Regions from separate parts of the Homo sapiens genome. Here all the other regions are linked to region 4. The links are contacts of gene promoters, found by promoter capture Hi-C in human tissues and cell types (Jung and others, 2019). All regions are on one chromosome and are shown on one strand. The core of a region is centred on a gene start or on the middle of the fragment in contact, and the rest is flanking DNA. Distances in the headings are between cores, read along the strand shown.

The links. The method cuts DNA at HindIII sites, captures the fragments that hold promoters and counts their contacts. A contact is called where the count stands out against the background at its distance.
Region 1: a fragment that was not itself captured here is called in contact with the fragment with the promoter of ZNF503 in region 4 in 1 of the 25 tissues and cell types used here (H1 embryonic stem cells).
Region 2: a fragment that was not itself captured here is called in contact with the fragment with the promoter of ZNF503 in region 4 in 1 of the 25 tissues and cell types used here (mesenchymal stem cells).
Region 3: a contact is called between a fragment that was not itself captured here and the fragment with the promoter of ZNF503 in region 4, in 1 of the 25 tissues and cell types used here (mesendoderm cells).

Annotation. Positions count from the first base shown.
Region 1 is chr10:76,278,605-76,285,849 of GRCh38, forward strand. All of the region lies in intron 5 of LRMDA (leucine rich melanocyte differentiation associated), which reads left to right. It overlaps LOC124902462 (a long non-coding RNA gene), which reads right to left. Exons shown (of 3, transcript XR_007062203.1): 3 at 1-7,245. Among named protein-coding and RNA genes, the nearest start is that of KCNMA1-AS1, 610 kb to the right of the region's middle. The HindIII fragment of the contact is 4,657 bases long and covers 554-5,210 here.
Region 2 is chr10:76,230,769-76,238,404 of GRCh38, forward strand. All of the region lies in intron 5 of LRMDA (leucine rich melanocyte differentiation associated), which reads left to right. Among named protein-coding and RNA genes, the nearest start is that of KCNMA1-AS1, 650 kb to the right of the region's middle. RefSeq lists enhancers at 1-610, 611-1,328. The HindIII fragment of the contact is 3,847 bases long and covers 1-3,371 here.
Region 3 is chr10:76,099,067-76,106,597 of GRCh38, forward strand. The region is part of intron 5 of LRMDA (leucine rich melanocyte differentiation associated); the gene reads left to right. Among named protein-coding and RNA genes, the nearest start is that of MIR606, 550 kb to the left of the region's middle. RefSeq lists an enhancer at 3,945-4,644. The HindIII fragment of the contact is 5,744 bases long and covers 1-5,363 here.
Region 4 is chr10:75,397,616-75,405,140 of GRCh38, forward strand. ZNF503 (zinc finger protein 503) reads right to left here and starts at 4,149. Exons shown (of 2, transcript NM_032772.6): 1 at 3,490-4,149; 2 at 215-2,759. The coding sequence starts at 3,804. The coding sequence ends at 1,134. ZNF503-AS2 (ZNF503 antisense RNA 2) reads left to right here and starts at 3,913. Exons shown (of 2, transcript NR_024421.1): 1 at 3,913-4,646. LOC124902461 reads left to right here. Exons shown (of 1, transcript XM_047426122.1): 1 at 1-642. RefSeq lists enhancers at 3,151-3,651, 7,113-7,525, 7,191-7,525. The HindIII fragment of the contact is 17,931 bases long and covers 1-7,525 here.

The DNA of each region.
Region 1 (7,245 bases), core at 1,632-4,131, 880 kb after region 4:
TTTGTTAGTAGCACTCAGACAGCATATAGGTAATTCCCCATGTTTCTTGTTCATTGTCTCTGTAATAAAACATTTTCTTTTATAGAAATCCTGACTCTAATTTCACAAAAGCTCTGCTATGGAACCTCCTCTGGCCTCTCCCTTCCTCCTGAAATACAGTAGTGTGTGTTTCATATTTGAACTCACAAGCTAATTGAACTTTATTGAAAGATTCTTTTACTTTGCCCAACATCTTTAAATAGTGATTTGGTGCTATGATTAGATACACTCTCAAAAACTATTGTTGCTGGGTAGAGAGAAGCTTCAAGGAAGAATGAAATAAACAAGCATGATGGAGTTGGATGGGTTAGAACAAGTTTGTTTTTCTTATGTGGATATGCTTTTCATATCCACATTTATTTTGTTTCCTTGTCTGAACTGCAAGGTCCTTGGGGATAGGAATAATGACTGACTCAGACTGTTCTGGAAAAATGGAGTATGATGGAGGACATGAGCAATACCTATAATATTATAAATGAGAGAAATAAAATGATAAGGAATTGCTGACCAAATACAGTAACACTAAATTGCAGTGATTAAGAGCATGAACTTAGAGTTTGACCAATTATAGCTGTATGACCTTGGACAAGTTACTTAACCTTTCTAGGTCACATCTGTGATTTGGAGATAATAAGAATATTTGCCTCCTAAGGCTGTTGATAACGAATGTAAAGTGTTTATAGCAGTGCCTGGAACATAATACAGGCAAAAATGTTATCTGTTATCATCATCATCATCATTATTCTTTTATGAATTCTTCCTTGAAGCTTCACAAGGCAAGTACAGGACAAATGAAAAGAAATAAAGTTTACACAGCATGGGATAAGAATATGAGATTTACTATGCCAAAAGTGGTATAGACGGGCTAAGGATTAAAAACTAATAACAAATGCTTCTTTTTTTTTTTTTTTTTTTTTTTGAGATGGAGTTTCGCTCTTGTTGCCCAGGCTGGAGTGCAATGGCACGATCTTGGCTCACTGCAACCGCTGCCTCCCGGGTTCAAGCGATTCTCCTGCCTCAGCCTCCTGAGTAGCTGGGATTACAGGTGCCCACCACCATACCCAGCTAATTTTTTGTATTTTTAGTAGAGACAGGGTTTCACCATGTTGGCCAGTCTGGTCTTGAACTCCTGATCTCAGAATAAATGCTTCTTATAGGCATTGTTTTAAAATGTTACATGTGTTGTCTAATGTAATACTCATGACACTATGAGGTAGTCCCATTTTATAGACAAGGAGACTGAGGCACTGAGAAGTGAAGTAACCAGCCTAAATTCCCATAACTCATAAAGGGTTGAGCTAAGATTTGAATCCAATCAACCTCTGCATTTAATGCCTATTTGTGAGTGAGTGTGTGTGGCAGAAAGGATCCAGAGTAGATGACTGGTGAAATTAGATGTTTAGGCAATGTCTTCACATTTAAGATCATTGTCAAGGAGAAAATTTTGAAATGTATTTTGTCATCAGAAATAATCCAGGGACACGTAGAGCCAAGGCCTGAGCCAGAGAAGAGGTATTTATACTTTGATTCAAGGAACATGAAATTAACCAGGAAAAACTGAAAAGCAATTTAATCCTTAGACTTTATAGGAGTAACCTTGTTGGGTTTGGTGGATGTGATGGAAAGAATGAAGGGCAGGTATTGAGCACAGCTAGGTATGATTCTCTTTTTGCCATCTTCCATTTTAGTGACCTTGAGCAAGCTGGTTCAGCTTGGGGTAGGGGATTTTGTATCCACAGTAGCAGAGTGAAGAATTATATGGAATCACTTTTTTGCACCCTTCAGATTCTAAAACACAAACGTTTTTGCATTGTCTACCCTGATACTGAAAATTATTGATACCCTTGATTTAACATTTATATTCTATCTTATTTTGTATTTTGCACATTGATCATTCATTTATTCAGCCCCTGTTTGTTTGGGGTATGCTTTGAGCTCACTGTGTGACTTTTTTCCTTAATTAAAATTAGTCTGGGAGAGAATGTATTTGCCTCCTGGAATTCTCAGAATTCTAGCAAGGTGCCCTAAACATCATAAGCACACATCAGCACTGTTCATATTGATTATCATGGTACAGTAGTGTATCAAATGCCACCTGAAGTTGAGTGCTGCAAATATGAGAAAACCTCCGTAAAATCAGCCCTCAATAACTTTTCTAGGGAATGTGCCTTAAAAAAAAAGGTACTGGACTGTGTGCTGAGAAAACTGTAAATATGAGTAAAATGATCCCTGCCTTCAGGAAGTTTACCAACAAGGGCACAAGCAACCATTGTAGAATTGCTTGTGGCCTTATTGATATACAGGCTAAGGATTAAAAAATTATAATCCCAGGGATGAAAAGCTTTAGCAGTTATTTAGTCCAACTCTCCACACACATTGAGTCCCCGTTACAACAGCCCACCAAATGGTTGTCTGGCATCTTCTTGAACACTTCAGTGGCTGTGAACTCAAACTGCTCATTCTGCTCGTGGTAGAATGACAGGCTCTCAATTTTTGTGTAGAAGGAAGTGTCTTGCTGAAGAGCAAAGGTCTTTTCTAGGCTGAGGAAAAGCCAAGGAGGTCATCTTGGAGATAAAAATCTGGAAAGTGGAAGTATATGGGAACAGACCTCAAAGGTCCTTTGTTGGAGCAAAGTTACAGAAGTACAAAAGCCAAGGCACGTGGTAGGAACATTAAGTAGTCTAGCTTGGTCATTTGGCAGTGACAGGTTGAGAATAGGGAACAGTGAAATTGTTAAAGATAGACTGGGACTATAATTTGGAGGACCTTGAGTGCCCTCTACTTCTGGGGTACATAACGGCCCTATTGAAAACCCTAATTCTATATCCAATAGGTGGCTCATTGAGTAAATCACTGTTAGCAGTCAGATCTGATGTGTTCCCCAAATCCACATCCTTTATACTCACCTGGACAACTACCATTCCCCCAACCCCCCCATCATCCATGAATTTTCTTCAGTTCAAAGAGACATGGTTAAAGCAGGAATTATGAAAAGGGCCCTCTGCCGGCCTTATTTCCATGTAGATCTATTTTATATGCATAATAACCCTAAGGGGAAGCTGTGTCAATCTGCCTTACCTGACAGACCCCTAAATCCTCCCAATGCTGCCTCCACTATTGGACATGTGCCAAGTGGCTTGCAACCTCAAAGAGAGAAAGCATCCTGATTTTTTGTGTGTAGGAAGGTGGGGGGCAGTGATAAACAGGTCTTGGCCTGTTATTGTCTTCCTGCATGATAATGAACCCATCACTAGCACAGGAATTTAATGCAATGATTTTTCCAAGAACCATCCAGCCCCATTGTAGCCCTGCCTGAAAATGTAAATACACCCTTTCTGGGGACAGATTTGCATTTTTTGGTGAAAGAAATGCATATATATGGCAAAGATGCCTCTGTAATTATAGAAAGTTTATTTCTGTCCCCAGATGTCAGCAATCAAATTCCACATAAATATATTTTGTGTAAATCTGTCGGCAGCTGGTCTCCATTCAGGTTTCTGGAGATATTAGCCTGTCTTTGAGTTTATGACAAAGTTAAAAATTATTCATTAAACTGACCTGCAGTATATTCAGTAACTGGAAAATTGCCTTGCAGTTCTATTTGGTTTGTAGATGTGATCACAAGTAAATTTTTAACTTAATTAATTGGCCGTTTCTGTTGACAAGAAATTTATGTGGTAATAATTTGCTCGAAATAGATGCCGACTGTAGGAAATGAGATATCCATCATAGGCTTGTGTTCCACCAGCTGCACAGTGGCTATTATGAAAGTATTTCAGCCTGCGTCGACCCCAGTGTTTGTGCAGTCAAGATTATATATACCCACGATCCATAGCCTGCCAGAGAGGCGCTGGTGGAGGTCTATGATAACAAAGACTTTGTGATTTATGGCTTGCTGTGAAAGCAGAGCTTGATGAGATTAAACAATTTCATAGCACAAGTGTTTCTCAAGACCTGATTTGTAGTTGCAAGCTGATGGTAAATCACATTTATATATCTGCAAGCGTGCTCAGCAGAGGACTGCAATTACAGTTTAAGACAGCTACTTTTTATTTAATTTTTATCCTGGTTTTGTCTCTTTTATATCCCCTTCGTCTGCAAACCATTCACCTTCACAAGTCCTTTCCTGGTTAGAAGGCCAAAGATTGAAGTCAATGATGTTCTTCGTGTCTTTGTGCCAGCTTCAGAGGGAGGTCCGGCAGATTTCAGAGCCGTGCAGACTGGTTCAAACTGGCTCTGACTGGTGTGAGCTCTTTGTTCAATTTCATGTCCAAACAGAAGTCTGTTTGCTATTTTCCCTTGGTGTGTTGCTGATACTTAAACTTCTTGGTATACAGAGGGAGAAAGAGGGGTCTTCATCATCCTGGGATATAGGGAACTGTGGAGCACATAATGGAAAAGGGAGATGAGGACTAAATTCACTTTAGAACCTCAACTTCAAGGTTGCAGCATATCTTAGGGTGTACAGTTAGCTCCCCTTTAATGGGAAATGTGAAATTGTGTTTCCCCACAGATCTGGGAGGAATAAACTCTGCAATGAGTTTATTTAACCAGTTTATTGATTATCTACTGTGGCCACATGTCTTCACTGAGTACTAGTACAGCAGTATTTGCCCTCAGGCAGTTTGTAATCTACATATGGTGCTAAAACATAAAAATAAGATTGGAAGCAGCAAGATCAGTGATAGCCTTACACGAGTGGTGCACCTGTTGTTGGAGGTCAGAAGGAAAGGGAGATAGAGTTCTTCCCACTGGGGAAGCATGAAGGAGCATGAATGAGACAAGTGCTTGAGGGACAGATCGGATTTCAAGTAAGGGGAAGAGGAAGTTCTGGAAATTTCAGTGATCTGTACTGAAGGAGGCCTCTAAAATACTCAGGTGTGAGTTCAAGTCCAGGCTGGGTGGCCAGTGATTGAATAATTATAATAATAACATAATAATAACATCGATTGAATGCTTACTATATACAACAAAGAGTGCTATATAGGTATTATCTCATTAATCCTCATAACAACCCCAGAAAGGGAGTATTATTGTGATCTCCATTTGGGGAACAGGAAATTGAGGTTCAGAGAGGTTAAGTAATTTGATCATGTTCATCCAGGTGTTTGGTTGAGCTGGTTCAACCAATACCCTGGTGTATTTCACCCCACAGCCTGTGTTCTTTGCCACTGTGTTTCACTGCTTTTCTTTTTCTTTTTAAATGGAGAGGAGGTCTCACTCTATTGCCCAGGCTGATCTTGAACTCCTTGGTTCAAGTGATCTGCCAGCCTCAGCCTCCCAAACAGTTGGGACTACAGGCATGCACCACCACCACACCTTTCTTGTTTTACTGCTGTTAGACAGAGAATATGAATGTAATTAGGGAGGCAATTCCACTGTTCTGCATCCTGGTCACATCTTCAAGAGCTCAGGTCATTTCTTTTTCCACGAAAGTACCTAAAGTTTGGGATGTTATTTTTGGTCTTTGTGATAGGCTGAATAACAATCATCCGAATATGTCCATGTCCTAATTCTTAGAAACTGGGATTACCTTATATGGCAAAAGGGACTTTGCAGGTGTGATTAAAAAATCATAAATTGTGGAGGTTATTCTGCATTATCCAGGTGGGCCTGAGGTAAGCACAACGGTTCCGAAGAGGACTCAGGGAAGTCAGAGTCAGGGGAGAAGGAGATGTGATGAAGCAAGCAGAGATTGGAGCAATGTGCTTTTGAAAATGGAGCCAGGGGTGCAAGACAGGGAACACAGGCAGCCACTAGGAGCTGGGAAAGGCAAGGAAACGTGTTCTCCCCTCACCTCAATTTTGCCTCTATAGGGCCTTTTTCAGACATCTGACCTCCAGAACTCTAAGACAATGAACTTGTGTTGTTTGAAGCTGCTAAGTTCATGTGAACTTGTTACAGCAGCACTGGGAAACTGATTCTGTCTTGCAAATTCCAACCAGCTTGACAGAGAGTTTAACCCTGATTTTGAAATCTTGGGTTTTTTTTGTATTATTTGTTTAAGATAGGGACTGATATGGTTTGACTGTGTCCCACCCAAATCTCATCTTGAATTGTGGCTCCCATAATCCCCAGGTGTTGTGGTAGGGACCCAGCGGGAGGTAATTGAATCTTGAGGGTGGATTTTTCCCATATTGTTCTCATGATAGTGAATAACTCTCATGAGATCTGCTGGTTTTATAAAGGGCAGTTCCCCTGCACATGCTTTCTTGCCTGCCACCATGTAAGACATGCCTTTGCTCCTCCTTCACCTTCCACCATGATTGTGAGGCCTCCCCATCCATGTGGAAATGTGAGTCCATCAAACCTCTTTTTCTTTATAAATTACCCAGTCTCAAGTATGTCTTTGTTAGCAGTATGAGAATAGATAATACAGGGATGCTTTTTGATTTCCATGTTTCCCCATTCTCCCCTCTTTTGTAGCCATAAGGGAAGTGATCATGTCTGTTTCATTCACTCATGAATCTCTGATGCCTAGTATGGTATATGGTATGCAGTAGGCACTCATTAAATATTTGTTAAATGAGTCAAGGAGATTACTTCATCCTATTTCCAGGATATAGTTGGCCAATCTGTCTGGAATTCAGTTTTTTCCACAACTCAACCAGCAAATGTCATAGCTTGCTCTTTATGAAGTCACAAAGGGAGTAGTCAGGCACTCTACTTACAGTTGTCTGCAAACTTGGATATCTCAGTGGAGGGAGGGGGCAGTAAGGCCTTAGGAAAGCCGAGGCTGGCTGAAGAATCTCTAATAAGTCAATGTGAGTGGCTAATTGTGCTAAATATTAAAAAAAAAAAAATAGATGTAACCCTTTATCCTGATAGCAGGAAGGTAGGAGGGTTTAATAAAAAGCATATTGTCTCTGAGACCCTCACATGTTTTCATGCCCGCATTGGCTTTTTGTCTTTTATGTGATAGGTAGGTAGGGAGTGTTTTCTACCTATGTATTATTCCAGGTTTTATGCCCCTGAGGGTCTTTTAGCTGGAGACTTATAGGCATAGTCCACTCCACTGAGTACAGATGTTAAAGTTGCCAATGAAGCTCTTTATGAGGGATGGAGACAGGCCAGTATCTTTGGCCTGGATTCTAGAGACCTGGTTTGAAAATCCTGGGAAAGCTGAGAGCTTCGTTTCTCCCTCTAGAGTACTAGTGTATTAGCCTCCCAATAAAAGTTAATTGAATTTAATTTTATGTTTTAAGT
Region 2 (7,636 bases), core at 198-2,697, 830 kb after region 4:
TCCATCTCCCATACATTGTAATGAATAGGTTCATAAAAGGAAAATAGTTTAATTACATTTTAGTTCATGGATTGTTAATAGGCTGGAGTATCTAAATTGAATAATGTGATTCTGGTAATAATTATGTGTAAATGAACTTGTTTAAATGATATTTTACAGCTTCTTTATAAAATTACAGCTAGAGGCAATCCAGTGATAGACAGACAAAGGCCATGCAAAAATTATCATAAACTATTAGCTTGTTTGCAAAGGGTTTTATGTTAATCTTTTAGTACTTAAAGCAATCTGCAATTAACATATCATGGGGAGCTGCCTCCGAGCAAAGGCATGCAAATTGAAGTGCTTAGATAAAAAGCCATTCATGTTGTGGGGGAAAGAGAAAGAAAGAAAAAAGAAAAAGAAAAAAAAATCAAAGAAAGGGTGGCAAAGTACTCAGAGGGTGCTGGTTTTTATATTTGAGATTAAGGAGGTGTAATGATTGTGTTATCTAACTATGGCTGTAATTAAAGCTTTTCTCCAGCAGACATGACAATAGATACTGCATTGATTTCGGTGTTTTAATTGTGAAAGTCATTTTATTTCAGGGCAGAAGATATGAATAGCCTGAATCAAAGGGCTAGAAGATTGCTTTGTTGATAGTACTTGTTCAACAGCTGCCTGGCTGCTTAATACACAAGTGTGGAGAATGCAGAGAGACCCAAGGAGGTGCTGGGTATTGTGATTCTCCTGCTGGTTTCCTTTCCTTTTATGAAAAAGGCAAGGATCTTGGTGCTGACTGTAAACAAACAGCCTTTTCATACCTCATCGATGTTTTTCCTCCCCAACTTTGCAGAACAAAAGAAGTCATAAAGGGCCTTGAACTAACTTTACTACTGCTCCTTTTAAGCTACAGAAGTTTATGCAAAGTAATAAAAACCATCTTTGCTAGTGGAGATATCACCCCTCTAATGATGAAAAAAAGTCTCTGAGTGACTGTGGTAGTTATTATCACAAATAGCCTTGTGACAGAAACAGTTTGTAGGAGAGAGGTTGGATTATTTACATTAAGGGCATATCCACAAAATCTCACACACAGTTAGTTTGAGATTAGTGCTTTCTTATCAGTTTCTATATACAAACCACAGGAGGGAAATTAAGTGAGGGGAAAACATATACAATCCCAGAGCAAAGAGAATTCTAAAGAGAATTTTAGGGAGATCAGGGTAGACTTAAAATAAAAATCACATTCTTGGCTATTTCTTCTATAACACTTCAGTGTAAATGGAGGTGAAACCCAGTGATTTCCAGTAATTCCTATTCTATTGATTTATCTCTTCTTTGTTCCTAGAAATATCAAATAGCATGTTTAAAGGAGTCTGAATAATAATAAACTTGGTTTTAGGGAACACTGTTTCTTTAAGTGATATGATTTAAAATAACCAGACACCAAGATATTACAAACATAACAATAATAACATAATCATTTACTGAGTGTTGTGCTATTTTTATTTATATTTCTGATGATATAAGGGAGTGAAAATTTTCCCTCTGCCCTCTGAGAGTTTGATAATTGAATCTATGGAATAAATGGACATTAGACCAATTAATAGGAGAAAGGACACATAAATTTATTACATGCATAGGAGCATCATATAAAACAAAGGTGAACACCCAGTGAGATCTAGAAGTTTTTATACCCTCTTCATAGGGGAGAAGAGAGGGGGAATGCAGACAACTTAGGGAAGGTACAAGCATACCTTGGAGATATTGAAATCTCAATTCTAGACTGATGCAGGATTTTCTTCTTGGTCACCGTGCAAGCTGGAGACCTCTGGCCAGCGATGCCCTACCCTGGCCTTGCTCGACCACACTAGCTGCTGCAGGAGATGGCCTCTACCTGCTGTAGGAGACGGCCTAAGTCTGGCTTACACACTGGTTCCCGAGTTCTTGTCTTGCACCCAAGAAAAATAAGGATGTACTGACAATGGAAGAGTGAGCCAGATGGGGAGTTTTATTGGTGATGAAACAGCTTTCAGTGGAGAGGGGACACAGGGGTGGTCCCCCTACCCAAAGGTGGGAAAGTCCCCTGTGTGTCTGGGCCTGGGGCCTTTTATGGACTCAGAATGGGGAGTGTGTGCTGATTGGTTTGGGGGTATGCAAAAAAGTTTAAACCAAAGACACCACTCAAAGGTGGGCATGACAGTGAAGAAAACCAATTACGAAAGGGTAGGTATATGTAAAATAGGTGAAAGGTGGGGACAGTCAGAGAAAAGTGCGCCAAATGGGAAGACAAGTTCTCAGTCTGGTCCAAGAATTTAACTTGTAGCTTGGCTTTCAGGCTTCAAACTGTAATCAGCTTGGAGGTGGGATTTCACCGGGGACCCCCACTGTCTGCCTAGGCATTTGGCTGCCTCCTTTCACTATCAAGACTGCCCCAATAAAACAAAAATTGCAATAAAGCAAGTAACATGAATGTTTGGTTTTCCCAGTGTGTATAAAAGCTATACAATACTGTAGTCTGTGAGGTGTATGATAACATTATGTCTAAATAAACAATATACATACCTTAATTTTAAAATACTTTATTGTTAAAAATGCTAATAACTATCTGCATTTTCAGTTAGTTACCATCTTTTTGCTGGTGAAGGGTATTGTTTCAGAGTTGCTGGCTGCTGACTGATCAGGGAGGTTGTTGCTGAAGGTTGGGATGGCTGTGACAATTTCTTAAAAGAAGACAACAATGAGGTTTGCCACATTGATTGACTCACGAAAGATTTCTCTGTAGCATGTGATGCTGTGTGATAGCATTTTACTCACATTAGAACTTCTTTTAAAATTAGAGTAAATCCTCTCAAACCCTGCCTATGCTTTATCATCTAAGTTTAGTAATATTCTAAATCCTTTGTGGTCATTTCAAGAATGTTCACAGCATCTTCACCAGGAGTAGATTCCATCTCAAAACAAACAAACAAACAAACAAAAAACACTTTCTTTGCTCATCTATAAGGAGCAACTCCTCATCTTTAAAAGCTTTATCATGAAGTTGCAGCAATTCAGTCCTATCTTCAGGCTTCTCTTCTAATTCTGGTTCTCTTGCTATTTCTACCACATCTGCTGTTATTTCCTCTACTGAAGTCTTGAGCCCCTCAAAATCATCCGTGAGGGTTGGAATTCACTTCTTTCAAACTCCTGTTAATGTTGATACTTTGACCTCCTCCCATGAATCACAAATGTTCTTAGTAACATCTAGAATGGTGAATCCTTTCCAGAAGATTTTCAATTTCTATTGCCCAGATCCATCAGAGGAATCACTATCTATGGCAGCGATAGCCTTACTAAATATATTTCTTAAATAAGAGGACTTGAAACTTGAAATTACTCCTTGATACATGGGCTACAGAATGGCTGTTGTGTGAGGAGGCATTAAAACAGCATTGATCTCCTTGTATATCTTCATCAGAGCTCTTGGGTGACCAGGTATATTGTCAATGAGCAGTAATATTTTGAAAGAAATCTTTTTTTTCTGAGCAGTAGGTCTCAATAGTGGGCTTAAATTAATATTTAAGTAAATCATGCTGTGAACGGATGTGCTGTCATCCAGGCTTTGTTGTTTCATTGATAGCACACAGGCAGAGTAGATTTAGCGTAATTCTTAAGGGCCCTAGAATTTTTGGAATGATAAATGAACATTGGCTTCAACTTAAAGTCGCCAGATACATTAGCTCTTATCAAGAGAGTCAGCCTGTCCTTTGAAGCTTTGAAGCCAGGCATTGACTTCTCTCTAGCTATAAAAGCCCCAAATGGCATCTTCTTCCCATGTAAGGCTGTTTTGTCTACATTGGAAATCTGTTGTTTAGTGTAGTCACCTTCATCAAATCTTAGCTGGATCTCCTGGATAATTTGCTGCAATTTTTCCATCAGCACTTGTTGCTTCACCTTGCCCTTTTATGAAGACAGCGTCTTTCCTTAAACCTTATGAACCAACCTCTCTTAGCTTCAAACTTTTCTTCTGTAGCTTCTTTACCTCTCAGCCTTTACATAAATGAGGAGAGTTAAGGCCTTGCTCTGGATTAGGCTTTGGCTTAAGGAAATGTCATGGTTGGTTTGATCTTCTATCCATACCGCTAAAACTTTCTCCATATCAGCAATAAGGCTGTTTCACTTTCTTATCATTCATGTGCTCACTGGAGTAGCACTTTTAATCTCCTTCAAGAACTTTTCCTTTGCATTCACTGTTTGGCTAATCGTTTGGTATAAGAGGCCTAGCTTTCAGCCTATCTTGGCTTTTGAAATGCCTTCCTCACTAAGCTTAATCATTTCTAGCTTTTGATTTAAGTGTGCCTCTTTCTTTCACCTGAACACTTAGAAGCCATTGTAGAGTTATAAATTGGCCTAATTTCAATATCGTTGTGTCTCAGGGAATAGGGAAGCCTGGGGAGAGAGAGAGAGATGGGGAAACAGTCAGTTGGTGGAGCAGTCAGAACACACACAACACTTATTAAGCTTGCCATCTTCTATGAGCATGATTCATGGTACCCCAAAACAATTAGGATAATGAAATCAAAGATCACTGATCACAGATCACCATAACAGATATAATAATAATGAAAAAGTTTGAAATGTTACCCAAATTACCAAAATGTAACCCAGAGACGTAAGATAAGCACATGCTGTGGGAAAAATGGTGTTGGTAGACTTACTAGATGCAGGGTTGCCACAAATCCTTCAGTTTGTAGAAAAAATAGTATCTGTGAAGTGCAGTGGAATGAGGTATACCTGCAGAGGATTTCTGGGAAAGATGAATGGGCCCTCAGAATAGGTGACAGCCTGCGACAGGGTCTTTCTGGGTGTGGTGTCACCTCTATTCTCCTCTCTTGTGATATAGATAATTGTCCCTGGCTGATAAGATTCTACGGGAGGGAATTCATGACTATTGAGTTACAGGAGTAGAAGCTTGGAATTTCTGGGGGCTGGCAGGGACATGAGTTTTGGGAAGATGGGGTTAGAAACTGTATGACGAATAAGGGTTGTCTTCTTATACAGATTAAAAGACTCTCAGGTCATAACAGTTTTCTGCAGCTAGCAGACTTTTTCTGATCCAGATAGTTTACTAATGTAGATTTCCTTTACAGATGTAAGTTTCTTTTACAAAAGGACAAGTTTTCAGAGCTACTTCCGTGTGTGCAGTTCCTCAGAGTAACCAGCTCGAAATATGCCAAAGAAATATAGTTTGGGGTGGTACATTCTGTTTGGCGAGCCCAAAAAATGACCTCCAATAACCATCCCAAAGAAGTCGATGGGATGATCCATTTTCTAAAACGAGTGAACTTAGCCTCAGGCCAAATATATTGTTCAAGGTCACATAGCAAGGGAGGGGCAGAGGCAGGTTAGAACCCAGACAGTCTAGCTAGATCTCTAGGAAAGCCTGATGCCATCCTCACAGGGTTAACAAGAATTCTGGACAGAAATGTAGTTATAATTAAGCATTAATTAAGCAGGCTGCACTTTGACCCAGTTCCTTGTAACTGAAAGTCAGGTAACACCAGATCCTGACTATTTGCATCCCCATTGTTCCTATAGACAGGATTTCTGGAGTTACATCAGGCTTTTAAGATAGATAGGATCTCTGACACTACAATCATAAGGTTTATGTTTGAGAATTGCAGATGCAGATTCTGAATTCCAGTGGAACAGCTAATGCTAACCATTTTGAAGACCCCAACAGAGGAACTGAATCAGCATGAGAATGGTTTCTTCATCTCCCTGTCCCATGACTTACTCTGCACTCTTTAACCAATCAATGGTCTCCACACTTTGGCCCGCTCCCAGACCTTTAAAAACCCTAGCCCCAAACTCCTTGGGGAGATGGATTTGAGGTTTCCTTCTGTCTCCTCGTTTAGTGGCCTATGACCAAACTTCTTTTTCTGCTGCAACCCAGCATCTTGGTGTATTGACTTGCCATGAACATCAGGCAGCAAACCTATTATGGTCACAAGCCCTTAGACTTCTTCTCTGATTAATGTTTTCTAAGTGCACAAAATAAAGTACAAAGGGTTACAAAGCAAATGTAGTATATTGAAATACTGTTATCAAAATATTTAAAAATAAAATTTATGACTTAGTAATTTATGTGCTTACAGCCAGCAGCAACTATAATTTCAAAGCTATGCTAACATCTACTATAATTTCAAAGTGTTGATAAGCATAAACAGTGTTTTGGATTTCTGCAATAATGTGACATGAAAATACCTGATTTTTTATCAATGATAAAGTCACAGATACTCCTTAAACTCCAGTCATTTTGTTGCCTACATTTATAATAAAAGAAAATGGGGCTGAGGCCAGAGGATTGCTTGAGTCTTGGAGTTGGAGATTGCAGTGAGCTATGACTGCACTACTGCATTCGAGCCTGGGCAACAGAGGGAGACCCTGTCTCTTAAAAAATAGCAAAAACAGAAAGAAAGAAAATGTTAAGTTCCCCATAAACATTACTGAAAATAAAACTATATTTTTATATATGTCAGATATTATACAAAAATACATGTGTAGATAATTATACATAAAAATAATTTTTCCCACCAAAATTCACAGACCTCTAAATTCTATAGGTGTACAAGGCTTAGGTTAAGAACATTTTTGGTTTTACAGATGAGGAACTGAGGCCCAGAGAAGGGAATTTAGTGACCCAAGGTTATCAGTAATCAGTGATAAGATGTAGATTAGAGCTGATTACACTAAGAGAACATAAGGAAAACTTAAAATACTGTATGTTGATCTTTTCCCTTTCTCCTGTGACTTTGGTGGCTTTTGCTGACATGCTCTTGGAATGTTGAACCTTTCTTTGTCTTTGCAATGTTGTCTTTTTCAAAGTGGGAGCAGCAAGCAATTTCCCCAGCCCTGAGATCAGTTGTTGGCAATTCCTGCTTTCAGTGGCAGGGCTGGGAGGATCCCAGAAAGCGCAGCCATAGGGACTCCAGGGAAGCTTCCTGTGATTGCAACCTAAATTTGAAAACTTTCTATTTAAAGGGACAAGAGTGCTTTTTTTTTTTTTTTTTTTTTTTTAAGATGGAGTCTTGCTCTGTTGCCCAGGCTGGAGTGCAATGATGTGATCTTGGCTCACTGCAACCTCTGCCCCTGGGTTCAAGCAATTCTGCTGCCTCAGCCTCCTAAGTAGCTGGGATTACAAGCACGTGCCACCACGCCTGGCTAATTTTTGTGTTTTTAGTAGAGATGGGGTTTTGCCATATTGGCCAGGCTGGTCTTGAACTCCTGACCTCAGGTGATCCACCCTCCTTGGCCTCCCAAACTGCTGGGATTATAGGCATGAGCCACGGCACCTGGCTAAGAGTGCATATTCATTATGTGTCTCCTCTACGCGAGGTCTTTGTATATCCTCTTCCAGTTAATATTCAGAGAGGCCTAATAAATAGTCCCCATCCTTGTTCTAGAGGGGAAGAGAGAAACTCAGAGATTGCCATGGCACATGGTGCTTGTGGTGAGCCGGGGTTGAGTTAGACTTTAGCTATGTCCTCACAGCCTAATGACGCAGGCAATTTGGTCCTCTATTTACTTATTAGGAAACTGAGGATAAAAGACTTTTAGCAAGATGGCCAAGTTCATGACTTATTAAGTGACAGAGCCACGAATTTAACTGAAG
Region 3 (7,531 bases), core at 1,242-3,741, 700 kb after region 4:
TTGGGAGGGTCAGAATCTTGTGCCTTCCAGCTACATGACTCCTAAACCATAATTTCTAATCTTGTAGCTAATATGTTAGTCCTACCTACAAAGGCCATCTAGTCCCCAGGCAAGAAGGAGGTTTGTTTCAAGAAAGGTCTGTTATTGTCTTTGTTTTGAAGTTAAACTATTAATATAAACTAAGTTCCTCCCAAAGTTAATTTGACCTATGCCCAGGAATGAACAAGGACAGCCTGGAGGTTAGAAGCAAGAAGGAGTTGATTAGGTCAGATCTCTTTCACTATCTCAGCTATAATTTTGCAATGGCAGTTTCATTAATTTTTTTAATTTTCTTTTTTATTTTATTCATCTCTGCTTTGTCTGTCTTAATTTATTTGTTCTTTTGGCTTTGCATTTAATTTGCTTTTATTTTTCTACTTTCTTAAGGTAGAAACCTAGATTCTTGATATTCTTTACTAGTGTAAGCATTTTAGTGCTATAAATTTCCCTCTGAGCCCTGCTTTAGCTGCATCCCATGTATTTTGTTTTATTCAATTAAAATATATTTTCCACATTGCCTTATGACTTCCTTTTACCTGTGTTCTTTAGACTTTAATTTGTTAATTTCATATACTTGGCAATATTCCAGATATCTTTTTTGTATTCATTACTAGTTTAATTTTGTGTGGTTAAAAAGGAAATAAATAATAAATAAACCAATAGTAATAATAATAATTTTGTGTTGTTAGATAACACACTTTGTATTATTTAAATTCTGTTAAATTTATTGAGGTTTGTTTTATTGCCCAGAATACTGTCTGTTTTAGTGACTGTTTTGTTTGTATTTGAAAATAATATGTATTTTTACTGTTGTTTCATATGAGGCTTCATAATGTTAATTAGGTCAGGTTGGTTGATAGTGTTGTTCAGGTCTTCTATATCAGTGTCTACTTTATTGATTAGTGAGAGAGGAGTGATGAAGTCTCCAACTGTAATCATAGATTTTTCCCTTTTTTCTTTCAGTTTTATCATTTTTTGCTTTATGTATTTTGAAGATCTGTTGTTAAGTACATACACATTTAGGATTGTTATGTGTTCCTGATAAATGACCTCTTCATCATTATGTAATATTCTTCTTTATTTCTGGTAATGGTGTTGCAGAACTTTGCTCCTTAGTTCAGCTAAAACCAGGTTCTTGTCACATGATCAGGAAAAGTTAGGCACACAGACATATTGAAGGGTAAAGGGAATGTGGAATCTATTGGGCAAAAAGGAAAAAAGAAAAAAAACTCTCAGAAAGCAAGAGGGGTTCCTGCTAACAGGCCCCCATCTCACAGATTGATTTCAGGCCATACACAGGAACGGAAGAGGCCAGGCTCCTCCCCACCTCCACATGACACAAGCTTCCCGTGGCTTCAGCCCTTTCTCCCAGTGTGCAGGCAGGTCGGAGATTCCAGGGACCCTCTCCCTTATCTGCCTCCAACATCAATCAATGGCTTTTGCTTTATGGGTGGGTCTTGCTCATTGATGAGTCCTGCCTCAGCTGTAGGAGACCTCTGATAGTCCAGGTCTAGGATCACTTACTGTTCTTCTGCAGGGGTTGAAGTCTTTCATTCTTTAACATTTTCCTCAGATACAGTATGCCCCCAGCATGACAGTGTATGCTACCTCTTTCCCAGCAATTTAAAGCTTTTGTTCTTTTAAGGGACAAGTAATTTTGAAGAGCTCTCTGCCTTTCCATTAGTAGCATCTGCTCCCTCCTGTAGAATTGAGGGTAGCTTTCCCTGTACCCTAGTCCTGCCCCCACTCTTTCTCTGTGAGCACATAGAGAGGTCCTTGGAAAAGAGTGGCTGTGAACCCCTCTGTGTCTGCAGTTCCAGGGATTCTATTTTCTCATGCTAGTACATAGTTGGCCTTCAGCAATCTATTGAAAATTTTAGCTGAATTCTTCACATCCAGGCATCAGAGGCCCCATCTTCCTCCCACTGGTTCAGTTCCCTGCTGGGATCAAGAAAAGTAATAATTTTACAAATTATCCAGCTCTTTTTTTTTATTGCATGAGTGATATTCTCTCCAGCTTTTTATATTCAAAGAGGAAGCCAGAAGTCCTAATAATTCATTTTATTACAAAAGTATCTATTTATGAAGGATAGGAAATTTAATATAAACAAAAACTACTGATTGTTTAAGAAGTGCTAGTCTGTACCTTTATGAACTGATTTATATTTTCATTCTATGCCACATCTTGGTCTTATTAGGTCCTTGGGTTTGTTACCTGGTAGTAAGGCTGGCTTTTTGTTGTTAGTTCTAAATTTACATCTTTTGAACCAAAAGTTCTAGTATGGCAGAATTTGCTGACTATTCATGTATTCACCCTTATTATCCCCTTTTCCTTTTAAAAAATTTTATTGCCAGGCACAGTGGCTCATGCCTGTAATCCCAACACTTTGGGAGGCCAAGGCAGGCGGATCAGTTGAGGCCAGGAGTTTGAGAACAGCCTGACCAACATGGGGAAGCTCTGTCTCTATTAAAAACACAGAATTAGCCAGGCGTGGTGCCACACACATGTAATCCCAGCTACTTGGGAGGCTGAAGCAGGAGAATCACTTGAACCCGGGAGGCAGAGGTTGCAGTGAGCCTAGATCACACCGCTGTACTCCAGCCTGGGCAACGAGATTGAGACTCTGTCTCAAAAAAAAAATGTATTAAGATGAAATTCATATTGAACATTTAGAAGTGAACAATTCAGTGACATTTAGTACATTCGCAGGGTTGTGTGACTGCCCTTTCTATCTAGTTCTAAACATTTCCATTGTTCCAAAGTCAAGCTCGTAACCCACAAAGCAGTTTCTCCCATTTCCCACTCTTCCAGCCCTTGGGGAATAACAATCTGCATTTTGTCTCCATGGATTTATCTATTTCTTATAAATATTATAAATATGATTATGAAGTTTATATATTTCTTATAGAGTCTTACAATATGTGACTTTTTGTAAATGACTTCTTTCACTTAGCATAATGTTTTCAAGATTATCCACATCATAGCATGTATCAGTATTTCATTCCTTTTCATGACTGAATAATACTCCTTTGTATGGCTATATCACATTTTGTTTATCCATTCATCCTTTGATGGACGTTTGGGTGTTTCCATCTTTTCACTATTGTGAATAGTGCCACTATGAACATATTTTTATTGCATCTGTTTTTTTAACTTTTATTTTAGATGTGCAGGTTTTTTACATAGGTAAACCGCGTTGTTGTGGGGTTTGGTGTACAGATTGTTACCCAGGTAATAAGCACAATACCCTATGGGTATTTTTTCTGATCCTCTTCCTCTTCCCACCCTCTACCATTAAGTAGGCCCCATTGTTGTTCCCCTCTTAGTGTTTGCGAATTCTCATTGTTTAGCTCGCATTTATAAGTGAGAACCTGCAGTATTTGGCTTTCTGTTCGTGCATTAGTTTGCTTAGCATAATGGCCTCCAGCTCCATCCATGTTGCTGCAAAGGACATAATCTCATTTGTTTTAATGGCTGCATAGTATGCTATGGTATAAATGTACCATATTTGCTTTTTCCATTTAGGTCAGTTCCATGTCTTTTGTTTTTTTGTTTGTTTGTTTTGAGACAGGGTCTCACTCTGTCACCCAAGCTGTACTGCAGTGGCGCAATCATGGTTCACTGCAGCCTCAAACACCTGGGCTCAAGCTATTCTCCCACCTCAGCCTCCTGTGTAGCTGGGACTATAGGTGTGCACCACCATGCCTATCTATTTTTTAAAAATTTTTTGTAGAGATAGGGTCCTCTGTTGCCCAGGCTGGCCTTTAACTCTTGGGTTCAAGCAGTCCTCCCGCCTTGGCCTCCCAGATTGCTGGGATTAGATGTGAGCCACTGGCCTGAACATGTCCTGCTTGAGTACCTGTTTTCCATTCTTTAGGGTATATACCTGGGAGTGGAATTGCCGGGTCATGTGGTAATTCTACGTTTAATGTTTTAAGGAACCTACTATCTCCTTTGACTATAATTTTTGTCATATTGCTCTTTGAGTTTGTCTTCCCAGAGGGCCCTAACTTTTCATTATTGAAGTAAGACAGGCAAGGAAGTCATCTTTCTACTAGTTTCATGTAGGAACCTTTGTAGCTTCTCTAAAGAGGATGATTTTTTTGGGTCTCCTTTAAGACTTTCCTAGCAATTTCATAACCTTCTTGGATGGAAGATACAACATGGCAAAATGCAGTTGAGGATAAAGAGGTTGTTTTTAACAATAAGAGCCCTCTTGAAAAGTCATGAGTTTTGCATGACAAGAAGTGCTTCCAGTTGCCAGTGGGAGAGTTTCCTCATCATGCAGAGTGGATGACTCACTGCCCTTGACTGCTCTTCTGATCCCGGGGGCCTCTGTTCTCTCACAGTAGATGCAGCACACAGAGCTGCCAAGGCATTTCCAGCAGGGGGTTCTGTGCTCAGGTTTTGAACAAGGGCAGCATGATGGAGCCTGACTTACTCATACACTTCCTGAGGTTGATGAACACATTTTCACCCCTTTTAGTTGTGGTAGGTAATGTATTCATAAATTCAAGCCTTTTTCCCAGATTGTAATGGATAGTTTATATCTCTCTCATGATTATTTAATTATTCAAGCCAGGATGACTGTGTGTTTTCTATCAGAGTTTGGGCTGCCTCAGCAAGATGCAGACTGGTATCTGCCCTTAGGTTAAAAATTCCGGCCAGACATAGTGGCTCACGCCTGTAATCCCAGCACTTTGGGAGGCTGAGGCGGGTGGATCACGAGGTCAGGAGTTCAAGACCAGCCTGGCCAAGATGATGAAACCCTGCCTCTACTAAAAATACAAAAGTTAGCCAGGTGTGGTGGTGGGCGCCTGGAATCCCAGCTACTTGGGAGGCTGAGGCAGAGAATTGCTTGAACCTGGGAGGTGGAGGTTGCAGTGAATGGAGATCATGCCACTGCACTCCAGCCTGGGTGACAGAATGAGACTCTATCTAAAAAAAAAAAAAAAATTCCACACCATTCCCTTCTTCCAAGTATGGATGGAATTTCTTCCAGGATCTGCCAGCTTTTGTGTGTGTTTGTGTGTGTTGTGTTTGTTTGTGTGTGTTTGTTGAATGTCTGTCTACCACTAGAATGCAAGGCCCAAGCAGGGAAGGACCATGGCTCTTCTACCCTCTGCAGACTCTCCAGGGACGGCACTATGCTTGGGTGTGTGGCCTACTCCCTATTTGTCATCCCAGACCTATGTTTTACTCTTCTTTCCCTTGCTCTGTGTCCTGGGGTGATAATGCCTTCAACCACCAGGCTCCATTGCCCTCTGGCTTCTGGTTGGGTTTGGACAATGAGGGAGAGGTAGGGCTACTTCCCCTCCCATTGCCACCTGCAACTTTGTGGTTCTGGCTGTGTCCATCCAGGACTATAGCCTTTCATGCCAGGCTGCCCTCCCTGCAGCTCTGGGTCTCCCTGCAGCTCTAGGTCTCCCTGCAGCTCTGGGTCTCCCTGCAGCTCTGGGTCTCACCGTGTGTCTTGGCCACGGCTATCTGCTCTGGGTAGCTCTGGTGCTTCAGTGTCCCCGGGGTTCCTTTGATCTTGCCCACACCCCTGTAAAGAATTTGTTCTTTTAAAATCCCAGGTGAATATGCCTTCTCTTTCTTGCCAGGGTCATGACAATGGGCTGAATTTTTGAATAGATGAGTGGATGGATGAGAAGACGAAGGGCCGTGTTTGTGGCTCACCCCCCATATGGAACCCCCCTCTGGCTGCCATCTCACTGGGAGGCCTTGCCCTGTCTCATGTCCCTGCTGCCTTTCTCCTGCACTCCCCTTTCTCAATCTGTCCCAACCATACTGGCTCCATTGCTGTTTCTAGAATGTACAAAGCAAGCTCCTGCTCCAGGCCTTTGCTCTAGCCATTCTCTCTGCCTGCAAGTGTCTTCTCTCAGATATCCACTTGGCTAATTACCTTTTCTAGGTTTTGCTGAAATCTTACCTTTTCTATGAGCCTCACCCAAACCACTGTATTTAATAATGGAAACTGCCCTCCACCAATATCACCTTGGCAGCCAAGGGCCTCCTTCATCTTGGTCTGTGTTTCTTTTTTCCAGAACACTTACCACGTTTTAAGAAACTGCATTTGACTTATATATTTATTGACATAAATATTATGCTTAATATTTATCATCTGTCTCTACCTGCTAGAATTTAAACTCCAAAAGGCAGGATTTCGTTACCGTTTTTTTCCATGGGTATATTCCAGACTCCCAGAGCAATGCCATCTTCACAATAAGTGCCTGTGATAGGTTGAAGAGTGCCTTCCACCCCAGAAGATATGGTCCCCTGGAACCTGTGAATGTGGGCTTATTTGGGGGGTGGGGGGGAAGAGTCTTTACACATGTAATTAAGTTAAGAAGTCCAAAATGAAATCTTCCTATATTAGTGTAAGCCCTCGATTCTAGGAAAAGTTCTTTTAATAGAAGAGACAGGGAAACAGACACAGAGACACAGGGGAGAAGGCCAGGAGAAGACAGGCAGAGACTGGAGTTATGTAGCCCCAAGCCAAGACATGCCTGAAGCCACCAGCAACTGGAAGCGGCAAGGATGGATTCTCCCCTAGAGCCTTTGGAGGGAGTGTGGCCCTGCAGACTTCTTGATTTCAGAAACCTGGCCTCCGGAACTGGGAAGGAATAAATTTGTGCTGTTTTGTTTTGTTTTTTTGAGATAGTCTTGCTCTGTTGCCCAGGCTGGAGTGCAGCGGCATGATCTTGGCTCACTGCAACCTCTGCCTCCCCAGTTCAAGCAATTCTCCTGTCTCAGCCTCCTGAGTAGCTGGGACTACAGGCGCATGCCACCATGCCCGGCTAATTTTTGTATTTTTAGTAGAGACAGGGTTCTGCCATGTTGGCCAGGCTGGTCTCAAACTCCTGACCTCAGGTAATCCACCCACCTCAGCCTCCCAAAGTGCTGGGATTATAGGCATGAGCCACCAGGTCCAGCCAAGTTTGTGCTGTTTTAAGCCATCAAGTTTGTGGTCATTTGTTATAGCAGCCCCAGGAAACTATTAGTATAGTGCCCAATAAGCATGTGCCGAATGAGTCCACGCAAGCCTTGTTAACACTGATATGACCTCCATTTGAAATAATTCTTCTGCTTTTAATAGCTACCAATGCCTGTTAGTAAATGTGAGTACGTCTGACATTTAAGCAGTGTTCCAGTTTGGGGTATGGTATGGTCCATTTTTGCAGTAGAAACTTAAACTTCCTGAAAATTTTCACCCACTATGCTTAACAGCTTAAAGTCTAACCTAACCCCCAAATAATTGCTTTCACTGTAAACCTATCAATAGCGTATGGAGAATGAACTCACAAATTATTGGTTCTTCAGGCAGTGGATGGGAACCCCTGTTGGTCTTTAGCCATGAAATATCCCTGTATCATTTCCCCATTTTTATCCTGAGTCCCTCCTGCTGTATTTAAGCTAATTCTCAGTGATTGTGTCTTTGGAGGAGTCCGTCACAAGCATCTATGTGATCACCCTTTGTATACCTGA
Region 4 (7,525 bases), core at 2,899-5,398:
TTCCAAATGGTGAAATATCCTCTAAAAATATGTTCCCCAAGGCCAACTTCGCGGCTGGTAGCCCCTTCCGACGCCTTTGCCTCCCAGAAAATCACAACAAAGCGATCGGAAATTCAGCCACGGTCCCGGGAAGAAGGAGTAGCAGTGAGGCCCCGGAACCCACTGCGGCCGAAACTGCCATGCTCTCTTTAACCAAAATAAAAAAGATAAGAAGAAGAAGTAAAACCCTTTAATACATCAAATATACGGAATTTTAATCTTTAAAGCGATACATTGTCTATTATTTTAGTACATGACGTAAACCTTGTCCCCTTCTCAGCGGGTGGACTTAAAAATTAAAAATAGTTAAGTGTTCCTTTTAAAGAACAAAATAAGGCAAATGAGGTTTTGGAATAGAATTTTTTCTTTTTCTTTTTTTTTTTGTTGTTTTCTTCCAGAATACATACAAAAAAATACCCATTCTCTTCGATGGTATACACCTTAAAAATAATTGCAATTTGAAATCAGAGCTGACAAATTGTGACTTTTTTTTTCATTTTTTTTGTAACAAACATGCATGTAAATTTGTGTTTCAATCAGACATTAAATAACGTACAATACAATCATAGCAATTTTAAAGTAACATTAAAGAGAAGACCTCTAGTTCTGTGGCGGTTTTGCTTTTATTTATAATCTACAAGGGATGGGAGGGTTTGTTTTCCACATTTTTACCCTCAAGTTTTAAAATTTTTCCCACCTCCTTTTTACCTACAGAGCTCAAACTAAATAATGCACTTTTGAACCACCGGTCCGCTTGGAGCTAACATAAATAAATACCAGTGTCCACCGATGCAGTCCTCAGATGAACACTTTCTCAATTATTTTTTCCTTTTTTTTTCTATAAAAAGTCAAATGATATTTTTTCAACTTTTATAAAGTTTGGGTGGGGAGGTGAAAGTGGGGAGAAGGGGAGTGTCCCACCGGGTCTCGGTCGCTGCTGTCGGGTAGATAGATACGGTATACATTTCTTTCCTTTCGTGGCCCGAGTCCTCCCCACGCGCGGGTGTCAGCAGCCTGGGCCGTGATCCCGCCTCTCCCTGGACTCCTCCCCTCCCCCTCTCCCTCCTCTCCCTCGCTCGCCCTCCCGGCCGCCCTCACTGATACCCCAGCGCCGAGGCGGTGGTCAGTCTCTGTCCGTAGAGGGCGTAGGGGGAGTAGTACGGTCCGGTGGCGGCGGGCACCGGCACGGGGGCGCCAGGCGTGGGAAGCGGGCTCTTGGAGTAGGGGTGGTAGCGGCTGCTGAGTCCCAGCGCGTGGTGGGGGCTGCGCAGCGCCAGCGTCCCAGGGCTGCCCGGTGCGCCCGAGGTGGGGATGTGCATGTGGCAAGCCATGGCGGCCGCGGCAGCGCTGGCCAGAGACGACGAGCTGGGGTAGCCCGACAGCAGTTTGTCTGTCCCGGGAAATGCCGTATGGGTCCGCAAGTGGCTCAGCAGCTCTTCGGACGTGGCGAAGCGCTTGTCGCACGGCCCGTTGGCCGACACCCAGTTGCAGATGTGGGGGAGTGGGTCGTTAGGGAGCATAAAGCCGTAGGGGTAGAGGGGGTGGCCGGCCAGGGAGGGCGGTGTGGCGCCAGCAGCCGCGGCGGCCGTTAGCGAGGAGTGCACACCGTGCAGCGGGTGCGTGGGGTACACCAGCGGGTATCCGGACTTCAGCGCCGCAGCCGCAGCAGCCGGATCATGTGCGCAAGAAGCGCTGGCGGCCGCCGCCCCTGCCAGGTGGCTAGCGCAGTGGTAGCTGAGGCAGTAAGGGTCCCGGCACAAACTGGCTGTCATCACGGACGGCGGAGACGCTCCGGCCAAAGGGCTGGAGCCGGCCGGCTTACTGCAGCCCAGAGACCCGGCCGCGGCCGCCGCCAGCTGCGCCCCCACCAGGCTGCCCGGCTTGGTGGGGTCAAGTGCCACGCCGTGTGGCAGGAACTGGGGCGGGTAGCCGGCGTAGGCCCCGGCCAGGCTGCCTGGGTAGGTCATACCCGCGGGAGGCAGAGGGAACACTGTCTGGCCCGGCTTGTAGGGTGACACGGGAGCCACCAGCCCAGAGCCCAACACTGAGGAGGAGGTGGGCGCGCTGGGGCCGGAGCCGGAGCTGGAGCCCGATGAACCGCCGCAGTCCGAGCCCAGAGCCTTGCCTCCCGGGCCCCCATCCGGATGCTGGTTCACATCCACATTAATCCCGCCGCCGCAGCTAATCCGGCCGTGTGCCAGCCCCGTGGGTCCCCCTTCGGCCGAGGCGCCCCCGGTGCCCTTGCCACCGCCGCCCACGTCGGTGTCTTTCTTGTCGTCCTTGCCCTCCGGGGCACCCCCGGCCGAGGACAGCATACCTCCCGGCGAGCAGGCCGAGGCGCTGGAGCTCGGGCTGCCTGTCCTGGGCGTGAATGGCTGGCAGGTGGCGCTCGGTACCCGGAATCCCGACTTCTCCGACGAAACACCCCCGCCGCCGCCCCCGCCACCGCCACCGCCTCCACCGCCGCCTCCCGGCTCCTTCTTATCCGAGCCGGGTTTGGAGTACGGCTTGAAACTCGACTTGTCCTCCACGCCGATGTCGCTCAGCTTCAGGGGGCCCGATTTGGTGTCCTTGTCGCCCGCAGCACCGCCGCCGGCACCGCCCGCGCCGCCCCCGTTGGAGGCAACCGAGGAGAGTTTGGAGGAGGGCGAGGGGTCGGGCTTCCCGATCTGCGAACATGTTTGCGCCAACAGCGCCAGCGGGCTCTTCTTGGCATCGAGCTGCGGGGTCAGACGATGGGGGGGGAGCGTCACACAGAGAAAGAAGTGGAAACCCTTTAGAATCCTGGCTTCTGGGGTTCAAATGCCTCTCCGCAACAGCCCACGAAGATCCTCCCAGCCCCAAGGCGCAATTCTAGGCGGCACCCCCTCTTCAACACCCACTCACAAACATTCTCGCCGTTGGGAAAGGCAGCAGATTGCTCCCCCCGCCCAACCACCACCCCCAGCAGCATCTTTCCTGCCCTCTCTGAGCGCTAACTAGATTTTTAAAGAGCAAAATGTTTTGGTTTTCGGTTCCTAGACCCAGAACTGTACCCCCTCCCCACAAACACTCCTTAATTCTTCAGAGTAAGGGCTCGGGCGGCTGGCGCCTCAGAGGCTGTGTGCACACACTGGCTTCTGCGGATACGAAGGACGGCGACTTTGGAACCGTATTTCAGACCTCCGCCTGCCTTCGGTGCCGAGTGAAGGGGCCTGGGTCGGGGTAGGGGCTTTCATATCGAAAGGAGAAACAAGTATTGGCAGCCTTGCTCCCTAGCATGCACGCCCCATTCCACTTCCTCCCCCTTTTCCGCCCTAGTTTTGAGGTACGGAAGCAGTAGCCTCTTCCCCCATTCGGGAGCTGAATCACTCCGACCCCCCCACCTCCGCCCAGATCCCGAGAAAAAGAAAGCCCTAGGGTGGCAGCCAGGGTAGTGGTCCCAGTGCGATCCAGAGAGAGGGTCCTTACCTCGATGGGGCTGACCGGCGTGGAAGGCAGGGGCTGCAGGTACTCGGGGTGCAAAATGTGGCCAGTTCGTGCCGTCAGCATCTTCAGCACCTTGATTGGCAGGCGGTTGGCCTGGCGCAGGGGGTCAGAGGGGGGCACGGCGTGCACAAAAGGCTTGGTGCTGCCGGCCGGGGACGAGCCTGGGCCGGGGCCGGAGCTATTTCCAGAGAGCGCGCTGGTCCAGGCAGGGTCTGCACCGCCGCCTCCGCCTCCGCCGCCGCCGCCGCCGCTGTGCTTACTGCTTCTTAGGGCAGAAAGCGAGGGCGCTGTGCTCATGACCCACCCGCGCGCATGGGAGCAGCGGGGGGGAGGGCTCCGGGAGGCGCGGGGCGGGCTCGGGGCTGCGCGCTCGCCCCGGGAGCAGGAGCAGCGGGAGGAGGAGGAGCTGGCGCGGCGGCCACGGGCGCCCAGCGCGCCTTCTCGGCGCCTGGAGCCAGACGCGAGTAATCCTGGGTGGCCCGCAGCGGAGCCGTGGCCGGGCTAGAGGAGCCGGCTGGACTGCGGGAGTGCCGGGCGGCTCGCGGTGTCCGCCTCGGGCTGCTCCCCTGCGCTGCGTTCTCGCGGCCCCGCGCCGGCGCTGCGCTCTGCGATGCGAGCCGCTGCGTGTCCAGCCGGGGCTCTGGCGAGGAAACTCACTTCAAAAGCAGCTGCACCAAGGGGGAGATTAAAGCCTTTGCCGCCTTCCAATCAAATGGGAGCCCGAGGTGATTGGAGGGTCAAGGGGATGTGACGCGTCCCGCGCCGCCGCCGCCGCCGCTGCCAGGACTCTCAGTGCCGGTTTTAATGGGCAGCTCCCTCTTCGCCGCCCCCCTGTGTGTCCCCTCCCTCGATTTCGCTGGGAGGACGAGATGGACATTTATTCTACGTTTGCCATCCGCCGCCTCCCTCTTTTTTCCTCCTCGTCGTTCTTCCTTTCCCCAGCTCGAAAATAAACTGAAACCTTCTTTTGAAGGGGGGTGCGCGTGAGGAACAGACTGCGGGGGGTGTCCAGAAGGAGCACCGGTGGGAGTGTGGACACCGGCCGGACTGTCAACTCCAGGGGCGAAGGGAACCTGCACACCCAGTGTTTTTTCCTTCGCAGTAATCGAGATCCCGCGCGGCGCAGCGCAGCCACCAGGGTAAGAAGGCAAGGTGGGGAGCCGGAGCTGGAAGAAGCCCGCCCGCCCGCTCTAATTTCCTCAGATTCCGCGGCGGAGAAACCAGAAGCTAGATGGGCAGTCGCAGCGGCGGCGGCTCAACACCGCGAGGAGCGCTGGGCTCTCCGCCCTTCCCGGCCACGTGACGCCCGGGGACGCGTAGATTGGGGCAGCAGCGGGGGTCACATGTTTCCTCTGTTTCACCCTCAGTCTGTCCCCCAACCCCCCATTCTTACTCTCCCACCCTGTTTTCCTCCCTCCCCCCCTTCTTTGGGCATCTCCACCCCTCCATCAATTGTCAATGTTCCTCGACCGCAATCAATCAGTTATTTGTCAGCTCTTGTCAATCCTCCCGTGATTTATGTCAGCTTTTGTTGCTGATTACAAGGCGGGTGCGACTTGAAGGGAAAAAGAGAGAGGGAGAGAGAGACGGAGAGGAAGGAGGAGATTGAGAGGGAACTGGAGGAGGGGAAAAGAGGAGCGGCCTCCTGGGATGGGGGTGGGGTGGGGGCTCTAAGAAAAAGAATGAAAGAGGCGCACGGTGTCAGGAAAATGAATAGCGAGAGTAAAGTGCGCAGGTGCGCCCAGGGCGCCGAGAGGGGCGCGCAGGCCTGGAGTGTGCGCCTGCCCTCTCGGTGTCGGAGAGACGCCCTTCCACCTCTGGGAGCCTCGGTCTGTTGGGGTCGCGGAGTTCGGGCGCGGCTCCGGGTACCCGAGACCAGCGGCGGCAACTTCTAACACGGGAGATTTCCCGCCACCCCACCCCGCCGCCGCGAGTCCTCGCGGGGCGTGTTGCGTGCGGAGGTCAGGCTGCCACCCTCTGTAGTTCCCTAACCCCAAACTCGGAGACTTCTAAGAGCCACACCACCAAGGAACTTCTAGTCCTGGAGGTCAATGGTGGGGCAAACCTCGCCTCAATTCTTTGACCCCCTCGGGTCGTAAGCAGGGCTAAGAGGCTGCGAAGAAGAGGCCTGGCCATGGGTGTATGGGGGAAGAAACATCTCAGGCTCACTCATGCCCCCTCCCCGACCTTCTCCCACCTGCCGCCATCCCCGCAGGCTGGGGAGCCAGGGTAACTCGGGGCTGCTCTCTCGAATTTATTGGAACGCCGAGTCGGAATGAGCTGCGCTAGGAGAGCCGAGGGAAGGAGCGAGAGAGGGAGGGGGCGGCTGCCTGTGGGAACGCGGGTTCTTCCAGGGAAGCGGAGCGGGACTGCCGCGTTCCCCTCGATTTGCACCGTCACTCGGGTTGTTTGGGAAGAAAAGGGGAGGCGCTGTGCGTGCCACCGGGTACCTGGACCTGGATGCCCAGTGTGTATGCATGCCTGTGGCGCTGCGTGAGTTATCGGGGCTCTGATAGCGTCCGGAGCGGGTTCGAGGGTCTCCTCCAGGAACTCGCAGAAATTAGAGGGGGTGGGGAGGAGGACACACCCCCTTCCTCGGAACGACTTAGAAGACTTTGAATCTCCCCTCCTCCGCTTTTCCGCCCCGGCTCTTCTTTTGTTGTCAAGTCCTTTTGATAAATGGTGGGGCTGGGAGCTCTGGGAGTCGGGAGCCAGTCTGTGCCCGCGTGGGGGGCGGGGGCCGAGCCTGGAGACCCGGTTTCGACCGGCGCGCACCTGGGGCTGAGCCGGGTGCGCGCGGGGGTCGGGTCTGGAACTGCCCTTGGTATGCTCGCCCTCTCCTCTTGGCCCATCTCACTCCCCTCCCCCACCTGACTCCCCTCCCCGGCTTCTTTCTCTGTCTCCCACTCCGCACGGGTACCGAGAACTTTCCGGGGTGAGTTTTAGAATTTGCTCCTAGGCATTCTTTTTCTGCGTTTGGATTTTATCCCTTGATTCTTTGGGTTGGTAAACTTTATGAAATGGTAACTTGACTGAAGCTCATTTGGAGAGAAGAGGGGAGTGAGGCGGTGTGTGCTTGGGGCTGGTGTTTGTCAGTGTGAGCGTGTAAGAGCACACCTGCATTCAAGGGGGTTTGTAGTGTCCGTGCGACATCTGAGGGAGGTGAGTCGGCGAGCGGGTGGCGAGGCCCCACGCTGAGGGAGGCGGTTGTCTGGTCTCCGGGGAGCAAGTCCCAGGTGCGCGTTTCGGAGGGCGGGACAGTCCTACGCTGTCTCTGCGGGGCAGCGCGTCTGTGAAGCACTCTTATCCTTCGGGTGTGTCCATGTGTGCCTGGTTACTGAGTGCGCGGCCGTCTAGGTGTCGACCCAACCAATGGTAGTGCTCCTAACGCCGCGAGCCCACCTTTGGGCCGCTATCGCCGCGGCCTCCCCGCGAGGCCCGGGCACTGAAATTCTGGGGCCTGCGACAGGGCCGGGGGGGACGCAGCCAAGGGCGTCCCTCCCCAGCCTCCAGACTCAGCTCTTCCCCCTCTCCTCTAATTCCAGCAGCTTATTACGCCGGCGGCTCAGGGGAGGCAGCCTCAGCACCTGAAGCCTGGGGGGGCCGTGGAGTGGCTCCTGCGTCCCCCGGTGTGGCCACACACGCTCGTGGGGCTGCGCTGTGCTGCGTGGGTGCGGGTCGTGGTCAGCGTGCGTTCGCTTTTCTCAAAACTCCACTCCGAGGGTCCGAGCGCATGGGGGCGCCTGGGGGCCTGCGCGCCCGGGGCTTTTGGGAGGCGCCAGCGTCCGAGCCTGCGCACCTCGCGCAGGAGGCCAAACCCCCGAAGGCCGGCGCGGGCCCGGGAGTGGGGGCCATTAATTACTCTGCGCCAGGCCTAAAGCCTCCAACCCCCAGCAGCAGTTGGCGTGGATGTCCTGCGGATTTTATTTGCAAACAATGGAAATGATTTGTTTTCTCTAAAAAAGGAGTGGGCAAGGCAGATATTGGAGGAGGGGGTGGGAGGAGGAGAAGGAAGGGG